Regions from separate parts of the Homo sapiens genome. Here region 2 is linked to region 1. The links are contacts of gene promoters, found by promoter capture Hi-C in blood cells and fetal thymus (Javierre and others, 2016). All regions are on one chromosome and are shown on one strand. Each heading gives the region's core, a stretch centred on a gene start or on the middle of the fragment in contact. The rest is flanking DNA. Distances are from core to core; before and after follow the strand shown. Region 1 holds the start of KCNK3 (potassium two pore domain channel subfamily K member 3). Region 2 overlaps OTOF (otoferlin).

Evidence for each region. Contacts are between HindIII fragments. The CHiCAGO score rates a contact against its expected background, and 5 or more counts as called.
Region 2: a fragment that was not itself captured here is called in contact with the fragment with the promoter of KCNK3 in region 1 in 1 of 17 cell types (M1 macrophages); the score reaches 5.2 in M1 macrophages.

What each region holds. Positions count from the first base shown.
Region 1 is chr2:26,688,432-26,695,919 of GRCh38, forward strand. It overlaps KCNK3 (potassium two pore domain channel subfamily K member 3), which reads left to right and starts at 4,291. Exons shown (of 2, transcript NM_002246.3): 1 at 4,291-4,727. The coding sequence starts at 4,445. The HindIII fragment of the contact is 28,883 bases long and covers 1,931-7,488 here.
Region 2 is chr2:26,524,239-26,531,726 of GRCh38, forward strand. It overlaps OTOF (otoferlin), which reads right to left. Exons shown (of 47, transcript NM_194248.3): 3 at 3,594-3,682. Among named protein-coding and RNA genes, the nearest start is that of OTOF, 31 kb to the right of the region's middle. The HindIII fragment of the contact is 3,244 bases long and covers 3,319-6,562 here.

The DNA.
Region 1 (7,488 bases), core at 3,041-5,540:
CAAACACCTTCTCTGTGTCAGCTGCTGTGCCAGGAGCTGTGGCTTACAGACATGAGTAAGGCCCTACCCCTGCCCTACAGGAGATTATGGTCTGCTCTAAACAAAACGAACTTGAATTTCACGTGAGGATCTGGTCTAGAAACTGATGGAGTCAGGATCTGAACTTCAGCTTGTCTGACTCAGGGTCCTACCTCATTGATCCTGCCCCTATCCTCCAGCCAAACTGCCAATACAGGGGGCTGGAAAGCAATGGACAGGGAGGTATTTGGGCCTCTCATCCTTCTGGCCACATTCTTGGCCATTGTACACTGACCACTCTGGTCAAATGGCCAGGGCTCTCGTTAACATCCCAGAATGTCAGAGCAGGAAGGGACCTTTGGATACAGCCAACGCTTTTGTCTTATAGAAAAAGAAACTGAGACACATAGAGGCCACGTGAGTTTCCCGAGTCCACCCAACTAGTTGGTGGTAGTTGATGGCAGCACTGGGACCAAACTCCAGCCTCTGGACTCCTAGTTCAATGCTGTCTCCCACATGCTTCCTTGGGCCCTGGGACACACATCTGTCTTTATCCTCCTCTCCTAAGCTAGACAGAGCTTGTCCCAGCTTTAGAACTATCTCTCTTCAGAGAACCACAGAAGCAGATTGCCAGGGTTTTTCTGCCTGCAGACTCAGCCATCTGTGCCCCTCTCCCTCTGACACTGATGGTCTCTAACTCAGGTATAGAGATCCTTAAAGCCTTCATTTGAGTGAGTCACCCAAGGAAACATGTGGAGCAGCTCTAAGGTGCAAAGTACTGCGGGGAGAGTAGCATGAGTGAGAAGGGTTTCCTCCACCCTGGAGAAGATAATGAGCCAGTGGGGAAGATGGATATGAAAGAACAGCTAATCTTTTAGGCAGGAGGAATACCTGCTGAGTTGATGCTTAGATAGGGTGCTGCAGAAGCACAAAAAGAGCCAGTGGTTCTGATCAGAGGAAACTGGGAAATGCTTCATGGAGGGAGTGGTCTTTAAGCTGGGTCTTGGAGCCTGAATAGGAGTTCAACAGACAGAAGATGGGAAAGGCAAGGAGGCACCAGCATCCCAGGTTATGGGAGCCACATGAGCCATGTGAAGCATGGAAGTACTTGGATGTGTTTAGAACTTAGAGAAGAATGGACTGGAAGATAAAGCTGGTTAATAATTGTGTATGATGTTAGTATATAATAAAATATAGTAACTAATGACACATTCTGTTCAATTTATCCTACCTAACTCTGTGTCCCTTTCCTCACAAACTAGAATCTTAAAAGTAGTGCTATTTCCTCTTTTTGTCTGATTATTGGGAGAACTAGAGAAACAGAGTCCGGGAAGGTCATGGGATGCTATAAATGAAGGGAGTGTGGACATTTCCTGGTCCAGACCCCTCCACTGATGGATGAGCAGCAAGCCTCAAGGAGAAGGAGCGACTGGCCCCCAATGCCAGAGCAAACAGGTGGCAGAGACAGGTTGACACTGGGCAGGCACAGGCAGGTCTGAGGAGCCCAGGATGGGAAGAAATGGGATAAGCTGATATGTCTTTGGCACAATCTGACCCAGGTTGCCTACAAGTCCCAGGGGCTACTCAGAAACCTAGACTGGTACCAACATGGCTCCTATTCCAGAACCTTCTCCCCAAGAGAAGGAGAGAGGAGGGGCAGGAAGAAGGAGACCTAGGCTGCCCTCTGGGCTTCAGGGCCTCCCCACTGATAGGTGCCCTGGTCCCACACATAATAGGTGCAACAAGAAAGTGCCAACCTTGGGACATGAGTCCTGGTTCCCCCTCACTCACTGTGTGACCTTGGACAACACTCTTCCTACTGTCTGGGCCTCAGTTTCCTCATATGTAACATGAGAAGGTTGGGCTAAATGATCTCTAAAGGTCCTTTCAGTATTGAAGTGCTCAGAGAAAAAGCTTCATCATGATTAATAATACATGCCCTGCCCCTAAAGACAGCTTTTTCCCTTTTCCAAAGCTCTTTCACTCATAATATCACCTTTCATCGGTACAGCTGTCTGGCCTGGCAGTCACAAGCAAGCAGAACCTGGACACAGCCTTTTCACCTTGAAAACCTGGTCTAGCAACCCTCTTGCTCATCTAGACAGGCTTTGGGGGAATTCGCTTCTGGGGTGACTGTCACCAGGAGCCAATACATCAGAAATGCACAGAACCTAACTTGTACCTTCACCTCTGAGAAGCTGGGAAAGGCAGTACTTTCCTTCCAGGGAGCCAGAAGATGCAAAGGGGAAAAGCCTGCAATAGGCTGAGTTGCTGGTCAGAGGGCAAGACCAGAAATTCTGTGCCTGCAAAGAAACAAAGATCTTCCCTTGAAGAGGGAGGGGGAACATGGTGCTATAAATGTAGGACCCTCCCATTGGGCTCTGAAGTCATTAGAGAGCCTCATATCATCTGATTTGCACACATGTGTTCTTCTTTGATCTCTCAAAACAAATGGTTCAAGACGCGGGTAGAGCTAATATTATTATCTATTCCACTTTACAAATTGAAAAAAAAAAAAGAGAGACTCAAGGAGTCATGGCAAAGAGCATGGGCTTAAGAGGCAGACAGACTGAAGCCTCTTCCCAGCTGAGTGAAATTTACTGATTCTCTACATTGCCTTTAGCCTCAGTTTCCCCATCTATAAAATAGGCATGACCACACCTACCTTTCAGGATTGTGGTGAGGACCAGAGATGATGAATCCCTGACACACAACAGATGCTTAATAAATACTTGTTGAAGGAATGAAGGGGTTGGTGGCACTTCTGGGGTGTCATTGGAGGAGTGTAGTGTCCGGCAGTGACAGGTCAGCCCAGCCTGTGGGTAGACAGTGCTCCAGCTTCTGGCTGACTGCCTCCTGAGTCTGCTCTCAGTCAGGGGCCTTGGTGTCTCTTCCCTGTCTCTCTGCCTGGCCCATGCCAGGGTCCTGTGAAGGACTTTTTAACCCTTCTTGGCACTGAGATTTGCATTCCAATCATTCTGCTCACTCAGCCCATCCAAGTCTGGAGTTGTTTAGAGCTGGGCAAGGCCTGTGGGATCATCTGCTACGACACCTCGTTGAAAAGATAAGGAAACAAGGCTCTGAGAGGGTCAGTAATGCCTGAGTTTCCACTACCCTTCCCACCTCACCACCATAGCCACCATGTTTGACAAATGAAGAAACTGAGGCATAGGGACCCCCTCTCCTGCCCCAGTTCCCGCAGTCTGCCAGTGAGCCTCCTGCTCTGGGCCCCACCTGCCCAATTCCAGCTAGATCCCGGTTCTGCTGGGATGCCCTAAGGTGGTGGCAGGTGCTATCTCTGGCAACTCAGCCTAAGCCCAGCCTGGTGCACGGGTGCAAGACAGGAACCATGGGAGTCGGGACAGCCTAGAAGCCCCTGGGAGCGAAGCAGGAGGCCTAGACTCCCAGCCTGTGCCTTCTCAGCCAGTTCCAAGAACTGTGCTGACCTGGGAAGGCACACATTGCCTGAGAACAGGGCTTTCCCTTGGGTGTCAGCTCATGTGTGCCCAGGTCCACAGCTGGGCCCTGCCTGCTTCCAAGACAGCCAGAGTCTGGCCCAAGGGAGGAAGGAGTGTGGCCTGGGAGGAAGGAACGCTTGGCTGAGTCCCAGTGCTGTCACGAAATCACTGCGTGCCCATGCGTGTCACTTGACCTCTCTGGGCCTCCATTTCCTCATCCATAGGATAAGGGCAGGACAGCGAGGCCCCAAGTGCCTCCTGGCTGCAATATGCTGTGATGAGGGTGGAGGGTGGGGTGGGGAGGGGCTCGCTCTGCCTTCCTTGCCTTCCTGTCTGTTTCTCTGTCATTAGTTTATCTCCAGCAATCCAGGCCTCTCTGTCTCAGTCTGTTGCTCTCTCTGTTTCCATCTTTTGCTCTGTATTTTTCTGCCCGCCTCTCTTCTTTTTCTGTCTGAGTGCACCTCTGATTTTATCTCCTCCTCTGTCACACAGCCCCCTTCCCTCAGTCCTACACTGCCTTTCTCCCATTCTCCGTAGTTATCAGCGTTTCGCTGTCTAGTTTTCTCTGTCTCTCGGGCTCGCTCTCTCTCTCTTTCTCTCTCTCTGTCCTGCCCGGGCTCTCTCGCGGCCGCCCCTCCCGTCCCCTCCGCCAGCCCCCCTCCTCCCTCCTCGGCGCGTCTCCCCAGTCCTTATTTGGCTGGGCGGGAGGGCTGGCGGGAGGAGGCGGCCTGCGGGCGGGGGGCGGGGGGCGGGCGCGGGGCCGGGCGGAGGAGGGCGGTGGGTGGTGCTGAAGGGACAGCTCCGCGGCGGCGGCGGCGGCGGCGGCCCCGGGCGCTGAGCGGGTGCCCGGCGCGGAGAGCGGCGAGCGCAGCCATGCCCCAGGCCGCCTCCGGGGCAGCAGCAGCGGCGGCCGGGGCCGAGGCGCGGGCCGGGGGCGCCGGGGGGCCGGCGGCGGCCCGGGCGGGACGATGAAGCGGCAGAACGTGCGCACGCTGGCGCTCATCGTGTGCACCTTCACCTACCTGCTGGTGGGCGCCGCGGTCTTCGACGCGCTGGAGTCGGAGCCCGAGCTGATCGAGCGGCAGCGGCTGGAGCTGCGGCAGCAGGAGCTGCGGGCGCGCTACAACCTCAGCCAGGGCGGCTACGAGGAGCTGGAGCGCGTCGTGCTGCGCCTCAAGCCGCACAAGGCCGGCGTGCAGTGGCGCTTCGCCGGCTCCTTCTACTTCGCCATCACCGTCATCACCACCATCGGTAACGGCTCGCCGGGCGGGGGGCGGGAACCCAGGGCTGGGCGCGGGGCTCCGGGAGTCGTCCGGGGCCGGCTGGGGCTGGGGGCGGGGGCTCCCCCGAGAGGGGCTGGGCGCCGAACCCTGCGCTCGCAGAAACCCGAGTTCAGCCTGGCGTGTGTGCTCCGCGGGGACGGAACTCGGGGAGGCGTCGATTCCTGGCTCCGGACCTGACTCTCCGGCCGGGCCAGCCCTAACTTGGCCCTGCCATGTTGCATAGGCCCCCAGGGACTCCGAAGTGTGTGAGAGGGGCAGGGACGACCGGCGGAGGCTCGGGCAGGAGGGGTGTGGCCGGGCCAGGCCCTGAACAGGGCGCTGAGAGTGAGCGGCGGGAGAGCGCCAGTGCTCCGTATCCCTGAGGATCGGCTTCCACAGCCTAGCAGGTCTACACCTGCTGGGCTCTGGGGAGGCATGAGGATGTCGGAATGCGGCACTTCGGGGCACTTGGGGCCACCCTATAACGGCGGCTGTGAGTGTACGTGTGTCTGCGTGTTTCAGCTCCAGGAGTTTGGTCGCCACCAGTCAGTGCCTGTGATTTTCTCAGAGCGGCAGAATTGGTGCGGGAAGCCAGATCTGGCCTTGTCAGCCTTCTTCTCTGCTGTCCCAGCAAAACAGTCACCTCACAGGAATAACCCCAGTTCTTTCCAAGCCAGGGCAGATCACCATGTAGGAGGCCACACGTACACCCAGACTGTCAGACAACACAGGCATAGGCACACATGCACACAGATACACACAGGCACTCACAGGGTACACACAGGGCGGGCACACACACACACACACACAGAGAGAGAGACAGAGAGAGAGAGAGAGAACAAACGTTGCCCAGGAAAGGAATCTCTAGCCAGGCCCTTGGTGGTGCTATTCAAAACTGTCCAGACGGGAATAACACCTTACCTGTCCCCAACACCCTATGATTTCAGCCCAGCTCCATCACTACCGTGATATATGACCTTGGGCAAGTCCCTTCCCCTGTCTGGGTCTCAGGCTCACCTCCAGACAAGGAGGGGTGGCCAAAATGATCTCAAGAGCTCCTCCCCAGCCCCGACGTGCTTGGATTCTGAGATGAAACCCACCTTCCCCCAAAGCCCATTGAGATGCCTCCAGAAGCAGTTTCCTCTGTCTTTACTGTTCCCTCTCCTCTCCCTAGTCCCCTTCCCTGCCTTGATCAGACTCCCAGGGGTTCGTTGCCACTTAGCGCAGCCCATGAAGATGGCATTGTTTTCCTGGGAGTCAACAGGAGCTGAGGGAGTAAAAGGCAGGACTAGACACTCTTCCTGCGGTCTATCCACTGCAGGACACTGTTCCAAGAATCTACGGCTCCCTGGGGACCATGGGGAGCTATGCTGTGTCGTTTCTGGATTCTTCTCTTGGAAGAGGGAGGAAAGGGCCCTGGGAGTGGATGTGGCCCAGCTGGGGCACCTCTGGGTCCTACTGGTCCTGTGAGTTTAGGATAGGATGATCAGACTTAGGTCTGCCCAAAGAGGAGCCCGCTTCCTGAAAAACACCAGCCCAGATTTGGTCTGCAGTCTCTTCCACTCTCACACCCCACTACTATTTGCCAGGGTTTCAGTAGCTGTTTAGCTGTCTGGAGAATCAAAAGAATCAGACTGAACATCTTTGGACCCTCTCTCTCCCTCTTTTCCACACGTCAAGCCTTCACGCGTGTCCCCTTTCCTTCTCAGGCCCATGGTCCCCAGCTTCATAGTAACCTCCCAACTGACCTCCCTGCCTACCCCACAACAAGGCATGCTCCCCTGGACAATGCTGCCAGAAAGAAAAACTCAGCTGTCACCAAACCAATTCCCTTCTTGGAATCCCTCAATGACTCTCCACTGTCCATGGAATCTGGTCTATGCTCCTTATCTCAAATTTTGAGGATCTCCATACCTGGCTCCAACCTCTATGTCTGACTTCACATCTCACTTCTTACTTATGTGATCCCTCTCGATAGCTGCCAACCTGTCCTCTGAGAATACCTTAAGTATGCCTGTCTGGCATGCCTTTTTCTCTGCCCTTTTTCTTTTCTTTTTTCTTTTTTTGAGAGAAAGAGTCTCACTCTGTCTCACCCAGGCTGGAATGCAGTGGTGTAATCATAGTTCAGCACAACCTCAAACCCCTGGCCTCAAGCGATCCTCTCACCTGGGCCTCCCAAAGTGCTGGGATTACAGGTGTGAGCCACTGCGCCTGGCTCTACCTTCTATTTATCTTGTCCATGCTAACCTTCCAGGTCCAGCTCAAATCCCCCCTCCTCCTCAAAGCCTCCCAGGCCACTGCTCTGGACAACTGCAGGTCTCACTGTGAGGATGATCTGGGTGACACGCTGTTGGCTGTTTTGAATGGTTATTTGCATTATAGGGGAAGTGTTTTGTCTCTTTGACCACACTGTACTCAACCTCCATGTGGGCAGGTCCTGCAGTTCCTGTCTCTGTGCTCCAAGTGCCAGCATAGTACCCAGAGGCTGTGAGCACACACAGAATGCTATTGATGGGTTTAAGGTGTGCAGAAATGAAAGGGTAGCATCCTTCCCTCTTCCTCTGCCGTTTCCCAAAGTGCTTGCAGTCCTCACCAAGAGAGACGCTAAAAGCCATGGGGGGAGAGGCAGACAGAGTGCGGTTCTGGTGATTATTTATTTATAAAGTGCTGGGCAAGAGGAAAGACAACATCAGACCACCCCCCTGGTTCTGTGGGGGCCCCTCCCTCCCTGCCCCACCTGACCATCCTGG
Region 2 (7,488 bases), core at 3,691-6,190, 160 kb before region 1:
GGCTGGCACCTGTAATCCCAGCACTTTGGGAAGCTGAGGCAGGTCTATTACCTGAAGCCAGGAGTTCGAGACCATCCTGGCCAACATGGGGAAAACCCTGTCTCTACTAAAAATACAAAAATTATCCAGGCCTGGTGGCATGCACCTGTAGTCCCAGCTACTCGGGAGGCCAAGACATGAGAATCACTTGAACTCAGGAGGCAGAGGTTGCAATGAGCCGAGACTAGGCCACTGCACTCCAGCCTGGGTGACAGAGTGAGATTCTGTCTCTGAACAAAACAAAAACCAAAAACACCTAATAGAAGCTGTAACTTTCAACATATTCACTGCATGGGAGTCAATTTCCCGATTTCCCAAATACTTCTGATTTGTTTGTAGCAGTCTTTTGATGGGCTCAAGTGTTTCCAGCATTTCAGTGGTTAGGCTGGTGGCTTTCATTATAAATGATTTAACAATGTCTTCCATGCCCTCAGTTTCCACCATCACTGCTCAAATATTTTGGTTTCTGGGAGTTGGATTAGGAAGAGAAGTTAACAGACATGCATTCTAGCCCTGGCTCTACCATTGTCTACCCATGTGACCTCAGGTTCCCCTCTGAGACTTGGTTTCCCCTCCTGCACAGCTAGGGCTGTAGTGGCTGAGCTGTAAAGCTCCTGGATGCTTTGGCACCTATGGTTGGGTTCCTTCAGGGGCTCTCAGGTGCCCTCCCTGGTGCTTGACTTCCGATTCTCCTTCCTTTTTCACACCCACTTGGTCTGTGTGTGAGCCTTCCACTTGTTCCTGTTTCTCCTGTCCTCATAGGTCACACCCTCATGGTATCTCACCCCAGGGAAGAAGGCTCTGCTTCACCTTGGGGGCCCCTGGTGGGGGGTGTCTCACCAACCTTGCTTGTGGGTGCCAAAAGCAGCTGCCTGAATGGTGTGATGCCATGAGAGGCAAAGGGAAGGCCTTTGTGCACTAAACATCCTCCCTGTGGCCCTGACAGCATTTCTGAAATGCCCTTGCCCCATACTCAGCTGAGATTTTGAAAGCTCCTAATAAAACCCACAGAATCAGAGACTCCTTGGAGCCCATATGGTGGGGCCTTTCCTGACTCAGAAATCCCCTCTACAATGTGGTCCACTCTTTGCTCACCCTCTCCCAGTGGCAAGGAGCTCACTACCTCCTAAGACAGCACATTGGCTGGAAAATACTGGCTATCTTTCAGTTGTCTGCTGTCTTCCAGCAGCCTGTTCCTCATCCTGCCTCTAGGTACACACCTTTCTTTCCTCTTCCTGTGGCAAAAAGCCTTCTGGGAGGGTAGGGGCAGGGACTGTGCCTCAATACCTCATCTCAGTATCTCCAGTGACTAGCATAGTGTCTGACTGGCAGAAAGCATTTGTTCACTATATGTATGATGAGTGACTGCAAAGTTGGGTGAAAAGATGGATGGATGGATGAATGGATGGAAGAATGAAAGGATGGATGAATGGATGGAAGGAAGGATGATGGATGGAAGGATGGATGAAAGAATGAAAGAATGGATGGATCGATAGATGGATCAGTGAATGGAAAGATAGAAGGATGGGCCAAAAGTGGTGGCTCACGCCTGTAATCCCAGCACTTTGGGAGGCCGAGGAGGGTAGATCACTTGAGGTCAGGAGTTCGATACCAACCTGGCCAACATGGTGAAACCCCATCTCTACTAAAAATACAAAAATTAGCTGGGCACGGTGGTGAGCACCTCTAATCCCAGCTACTCAGGAGGCTGATACAGGATAATTGCTTGAACCAGAGAGGCGGAGGTTGCAGTGAGCCGAGATCAGGCCACTGCACTCCACTGTGGGCCACAGAGCAAGACTCTGTCTCAAAAAAAAAAAAAAAAAAAAGGAAAAGAAAAAAGGTGGAAGGATGGATGAATGGATGGATGAGTGGATGGAAGGATGAATGGAAAGGATGAAAGGGTAAGTGGTGGATGAATGGATGGAAAGATGGAAGGATTGGGTTGATGAATGAATGGATGAAAGGAAGGATGGGTGAATGGATGGATGGATGGATGGATGAGTGGATGGATAGGATGAATGAAAGGATGGACGGATGAATGGATAGATGGATAAATGGGTGGATAAATGAATTGATAAATGGATGGAGGGATGGATTGATGAATGGATGGATGAAAGGATGGAAGGATGGATGAAAGAAAGGAAGGGTGGATAAATCAATTGATGGACAGACAAATGGATAGGCAGATGGATGAATAACAGGAATGATAGATGGATGGATGGATGAATGGATCAATGGATGGATGAATGGATGAATATGTCCTCTATGATTTTCCCTTTCAGGCTCTCATCCATTTGTTATAAGGTAACACTTAAAGTCCCTTTCCTCCTGGAAACTATAGGGTGGTGCCTACAGGAATTCTCTGCCACTAGTATCAGAGCAGTGGACTCCTTGTCTCTCCTGCTCAGATCAGGAGTGCTTTAATTCTATTAGTATGATTTAGGATGAGGCCTACTTTTCTTTTGTTTGTAGTCTCCTCCCACTGTTGAGTCATTCTGAGTCCTCAGTGAGCTAACACCTCCATACCTTCTTGGACATGTTACAGTTAAGCCATGACCTCCAGCTTGTATAAGAGCAACCGATTTTTTTTTAAAGAGATGGGATCTCACTATGTTGCCCAGGCTAGCCTCAAATTACTGGGATCAAATGATCCTCCCGCCTTATCTGCCCAAGGACCTAGGACTACAGGTGTGTGCCACACCTGGCTGTGATTTTTTAACCCAAGATATTACTTAGCCACTGTTCCAGCGTGTTCAAATCCTTCTGAATTCTTCTCATGGCCCAGAGAGAAGGATGACAACTACTTTTATTGAACACCTTATAGTGATAACGCTCGTATGGCAGGTGTACTTCACTTGTGGAGTGCAAGCTCCATGAAGGTAGGCACCCCGCCCTCTGCATCACCTAATTCAGTACCTGATACACAATCGACGCTTAGTAAACATTTGTTGAATGAGTGAGTGAATATCTATCTCATTTAATTCACACAGCTGCCCTTTGAGGTAAATACTTGTCCTTTTCACACATGAGCACATTGAAATCAGAGAGGTTATGTAACCTTTCCAGGGTCACACAGTAGATGACTGACCTGAGTGTCTGAGATCAGGCTTGCCTGACTCCTAAACCACCACCCCAAACTGTCAAGCCTGCCCTCAGGGCTACAGAGTGTCTCTTGGAGGAGATCATCAGCCCCTCCACCTTTCGCCTCTCCAGTGGGTAACTGTACCCCAGCGTGGCATTGAGGGAGACTTAAAGCTTTAAGTCTTTAAGACAGGAAGCTTTGATGGGGTTGGAGACAGCAGAGGTGATAGGAGGGTGGAGTGTTCTTGGCTGACAGCAGCTGGGAGAACTGGGGGATTCTGAAGACAAGAAGAGGGATCAAAATGGGGATCAAAGACCAGCCCAAGATTTCTTCGGTCTTTGAAGATCAATCCAGGGCAGGTTGGGAGTGTAGGTCCCCTTTTTAAGCCCCAAACAGAGGGTAGCCCAAGGAGAAGAGCAGGCTCCCAGCCCGTCCAGGCCCAGCCCCTCCTGCCCCATCCCACACTTACTTGTTGCTGAAGACTTTGCTGTAGTTGAAAACCTGAATCTCCAGCATCTCATTTCTGTCGATGCTGCTGGCCACCGGCCACCGAAATGTCTGGGGAGAGAGGGACAACTGCGGCTTCGGTGGCAATAACAGGTAGGAGCCGTGGGGTGTGGGAGGGGAATCTCTTGTGGGGATCTCCAACAGTCAGAGTGGCCCCTCACTTGGGCCCAGTGCTCCCCAGGGACAAAGCATTGACACCTGGAATCTCATTTAGTTCCAACAACCACCTTGTAGAGCCGGCATTGTTGCCCACTCCTCTTTCAAAGATGGTGCTCAGAGATGTTGGAGGACCTGCCCAAGGTCATGTGGTAGGTGAAGAGCCTGGACCTACCAGGACTTTTGACTCCCTACACAGCGCTGCTTCCATGGCCTCCCAGCTCCTGAGGGGGGTTGGGAGAGGGTGGTGCAACCAGGGTGGTGGTCGGGTCCCAGGGAGACAGCAAGGAATGTGGGTGTGAGCCTGGTTTTTGGTGGGTGCTGAATGGAGCTGTGAGCTTCCAGCTCTCTCTCATCAGAATCACCCTGACTGGCACAGGCTCTGCCCCAGACTCCTGTGTTGAGTTCAAACCACTCCTCACTCTGCCAGTGGTAACACTGGGGACAGGTTTGAGCTGATTAGTGTTATTGGGGTCAGGCCCACAGCCTGTCCCCAACTCATTGTTTCTAGATTCACCCTTACCACTTCTTCGTTGCTTCCTCCCTAACTCAATGTTAATGATGAGTAGGAATTTGATTGGGATTTTTCCTGGTGCCCTAGAAGTGGCAACAATGGCTCAAAACAGAGGCTAAAGTGGCCCAGTGCCCCATTCTGTAAAAAGCTGCCAATGGGCAGAGCCAGACATCTTCCTAGGGCTTCCTCAAAGGCCCTGTTACCTCCAACCATCACCCAGCCCACCTTCCTGGGATGGGAAAGAAGACTGGGCAAGGGAAAGGTGGGAAGAATTCTGTCCTAGGCGTAGTGTTTTTGTGGTACTTCTTGGGGAAACAGCTCATGGTGATTAGATACCTGCAAGAGGGGCAGCATGGCATGCAAATCCCCAGTGGCATCTGCAGGGCAGTGGACTGGCAGGAGACCCATAGAGTACAGCAGGGCAAGGAGCCCAGCCTGCCACTGTTGGCTGTGGCAAGTCATCTATTTGCGCTCCATTGGCCAAGTGGGGTAGAGTGATATGAGGACAGTTTTTCCATGGGCTGCCCACCAGGGGAGGATGTGGAGGGCCTCAGCAGGGGTCCCTGTCCCACTCCACATCCTGAGCCACAAGCATGAGGGAAGGAGGATGGCCAGGGGTGAACAGGATGCCAGACTGGAGTAGGAAGCCCTTCTGGACAGGACCAGACAACGCTGAGGTCTGCTCAAGACGCTGTGGAGAGACCGTGTCAGGGAGGATTTTGACAGATCTGGTAGAAGGCAGTGACTTTTTATTTTTTAGTTCCATTTTTATACCCTACCAAATTCAGACTGCTCAATAGTCCAGTAATAAATAATAATAGTAATAATCGCTGCCATTTCTGGGGAACTTTTTCTTATGCAGAGGTCTGAATGCTCTACGTGCATATTCATTCATTTAGTCTTTCCAATGGCCGGAGAGGTGGGTAATGGCTTCTGTGCTCTATAAACAAGGAACTCGGCCTCAGAGCAGATGCATGACTTGGAGCACTCTGTTGCTGGCTGAGCAGGCCCTCGGGAGGAGGCTTCTGTGAGCCCACCCTGCACGTTTGCCATTCCCAAAGCTGAGATTCCTTCTCCCAGCCTGGGGACTTGGAGGGCTTGGGCACACTGGGCCAGCACCGCGGGTCACTGCCCAGTGTGGGCAGGGCCTGTCTCAGGAAAACGGCCTTTGTGACATCTCCCTTCAGGACTGGCAAGGGAGGACCTGGCCTTGGCATGAGAGGGAGGAAGAAGCAGAGGAGCGGGAGAGGGGTCTGCGGGGTGGGGTGGGGAGGGTTCTGAGCAGGGCCTAGGGAGGGCTTCAGAGGCGAGGTGGGCACAGGGCGGAGGGGTGCGCTGAGAGTCCCAGGAAGTGGAGGCAGCCCGGCCCACAGGCCTCATTCAGCGGCTGCGGCTCCAGCTTCTGGATGCCTCTGGCAGCTCAGCAGAGTGTGTGGTTTTCTTAATGAAGCTGCTTTTATGGGGCTGCAGGGAAATAAAGCAGCCCAGGAAGGCCCAGCTCATCAGCCAGGGCGCTGTGTGGGAGTCGGGGGGCCGCAGGAGCCACCGAGATTTGGTTTACTGGGGATGAAGAGGGGAGGGGTGATTGGTCCCCCTGAGGGTCTGTGGGTGGGATTTTGGCATTGGAAGGAGAGAAAGATCAGGAGAAAAAGGACATGACTTTGGAGATGGCCCTGTGAAAGGGAGGTGGGGTGTTGAACGGTGGCGGGAGGCTGAGGCTAAGGGACCTGGGGAGGGAGGCTGCCTGGCTGCGGGGCGAGGGCCAGTTTGTTGAGTGAGAGTCGGGGGACAGGGAGGGCACAGGAGACAGGGGGCTTCCGGGGCCCCTGACTGCAGATGAGAATAATCAGGGGAAGCGTGTGTAGGTGTGTGGCTCAGGTGCCCTTTCAGAAATTCGTCAGCCGGGTCTGGGCAGTCCATGCCTATGTCAGCGGGGAATGTTCTTCTTGGAGGCTTTCCGGGTGAGGGAGAAGACAGGGTCCTCACTGAGTCACAGCAGCTTCTTCGGTCTCTGACTTGCTCCCACCTTACAGTTTCCTTTCTTTCCTCCCCTGTCTCCCTCCCGCATTTTCCACCCACACGAGGCTTTCCCCTCATTTCTTTTCCTTCCCTCCCGCATCATTCGTCTGCTTTCTTCTCCTCACCACATCTGTTTTCTTTCATCAGTTTCTCTCTCTGTCTCTATCTCTCCCTTTGTCTCTGTCTCCCTCTGTCTTTCTCAGGGGTTCTTCATCTTGGCTGGAACTGCAATCCATTCCAGAAGCTTTTAAAAATCCCAAGGCCCAGCCTGGAGACCGATCAAGCCGGCACCTCTAGGTGGGGTCCTGGCATCAGTGTGGGGCCTCGGAGGGTGACGGGCCTCTTGGCTGGAGGGAAGTGACTCAGGGTCTGGGACTGGGGGTTACTCCCATTTGGCCTCCCTGGAAGTAGAGGCATGGGCTGTAAGAAGGAGACTTTTGGGGTTGAATTTTCCTCTCTTTTTATCTCTCCTTTGTTAAAACTTTTCAGTGGCTCCTCTACAGCTCCCTGAAAGAGGTGGGGATTCCCCTTCCTAGCACCCAGAGGCCCCCTTGCTGTGCCCAGACAGCATTTCCAGCCCCATCTCCCATTGCTGACACCTTCCTTTGCTGAGGCAGCCTCTGTGAGCTCTGGGCACCTCACAGAGCTCCAAAGGACATGCCCACCCTTTGCTTCTTTTTTGTTCTTCTGACAACACCGAGGCTTGTATCTCACGCAGACTGGGAGTCTCCGTGGTGTTGCAGAAACTCTGAGTTTGAGTCAGGAGACTTGAGTTCTAGCCCTGGCTCTGCCACTCACTAGCTGTGCCTCAGCTTCCCCATCTGTGAAAAGAGGGGGGTGACAATATCTACCTTAGAGGGCTATTGAGAGAATCAAATGGGATCTCACAGGTGACAGCAGTCGTAAGTGACACAGCACGGCAGAATGTGTTTAGTTTAGATCTTCCCAGTGGGAACTCTGTGCAGGTCTGCAACTGCCTTGTCTCCTTGTCATGCCACCTCCCTCCCCTTCGCCGCCATCACTTTCCTCTTCTGCCTCGGCCTGTGGATTTCACGTGTCTCTTTCACTGCATCTTCTCTTCCCTAATTTCATTTTTCATTGTCTCCTCATTTTTGTGGTTATGTCCTTTCCTCCATTTGGGGTGATATGCTGAGAACACAGCAAGACG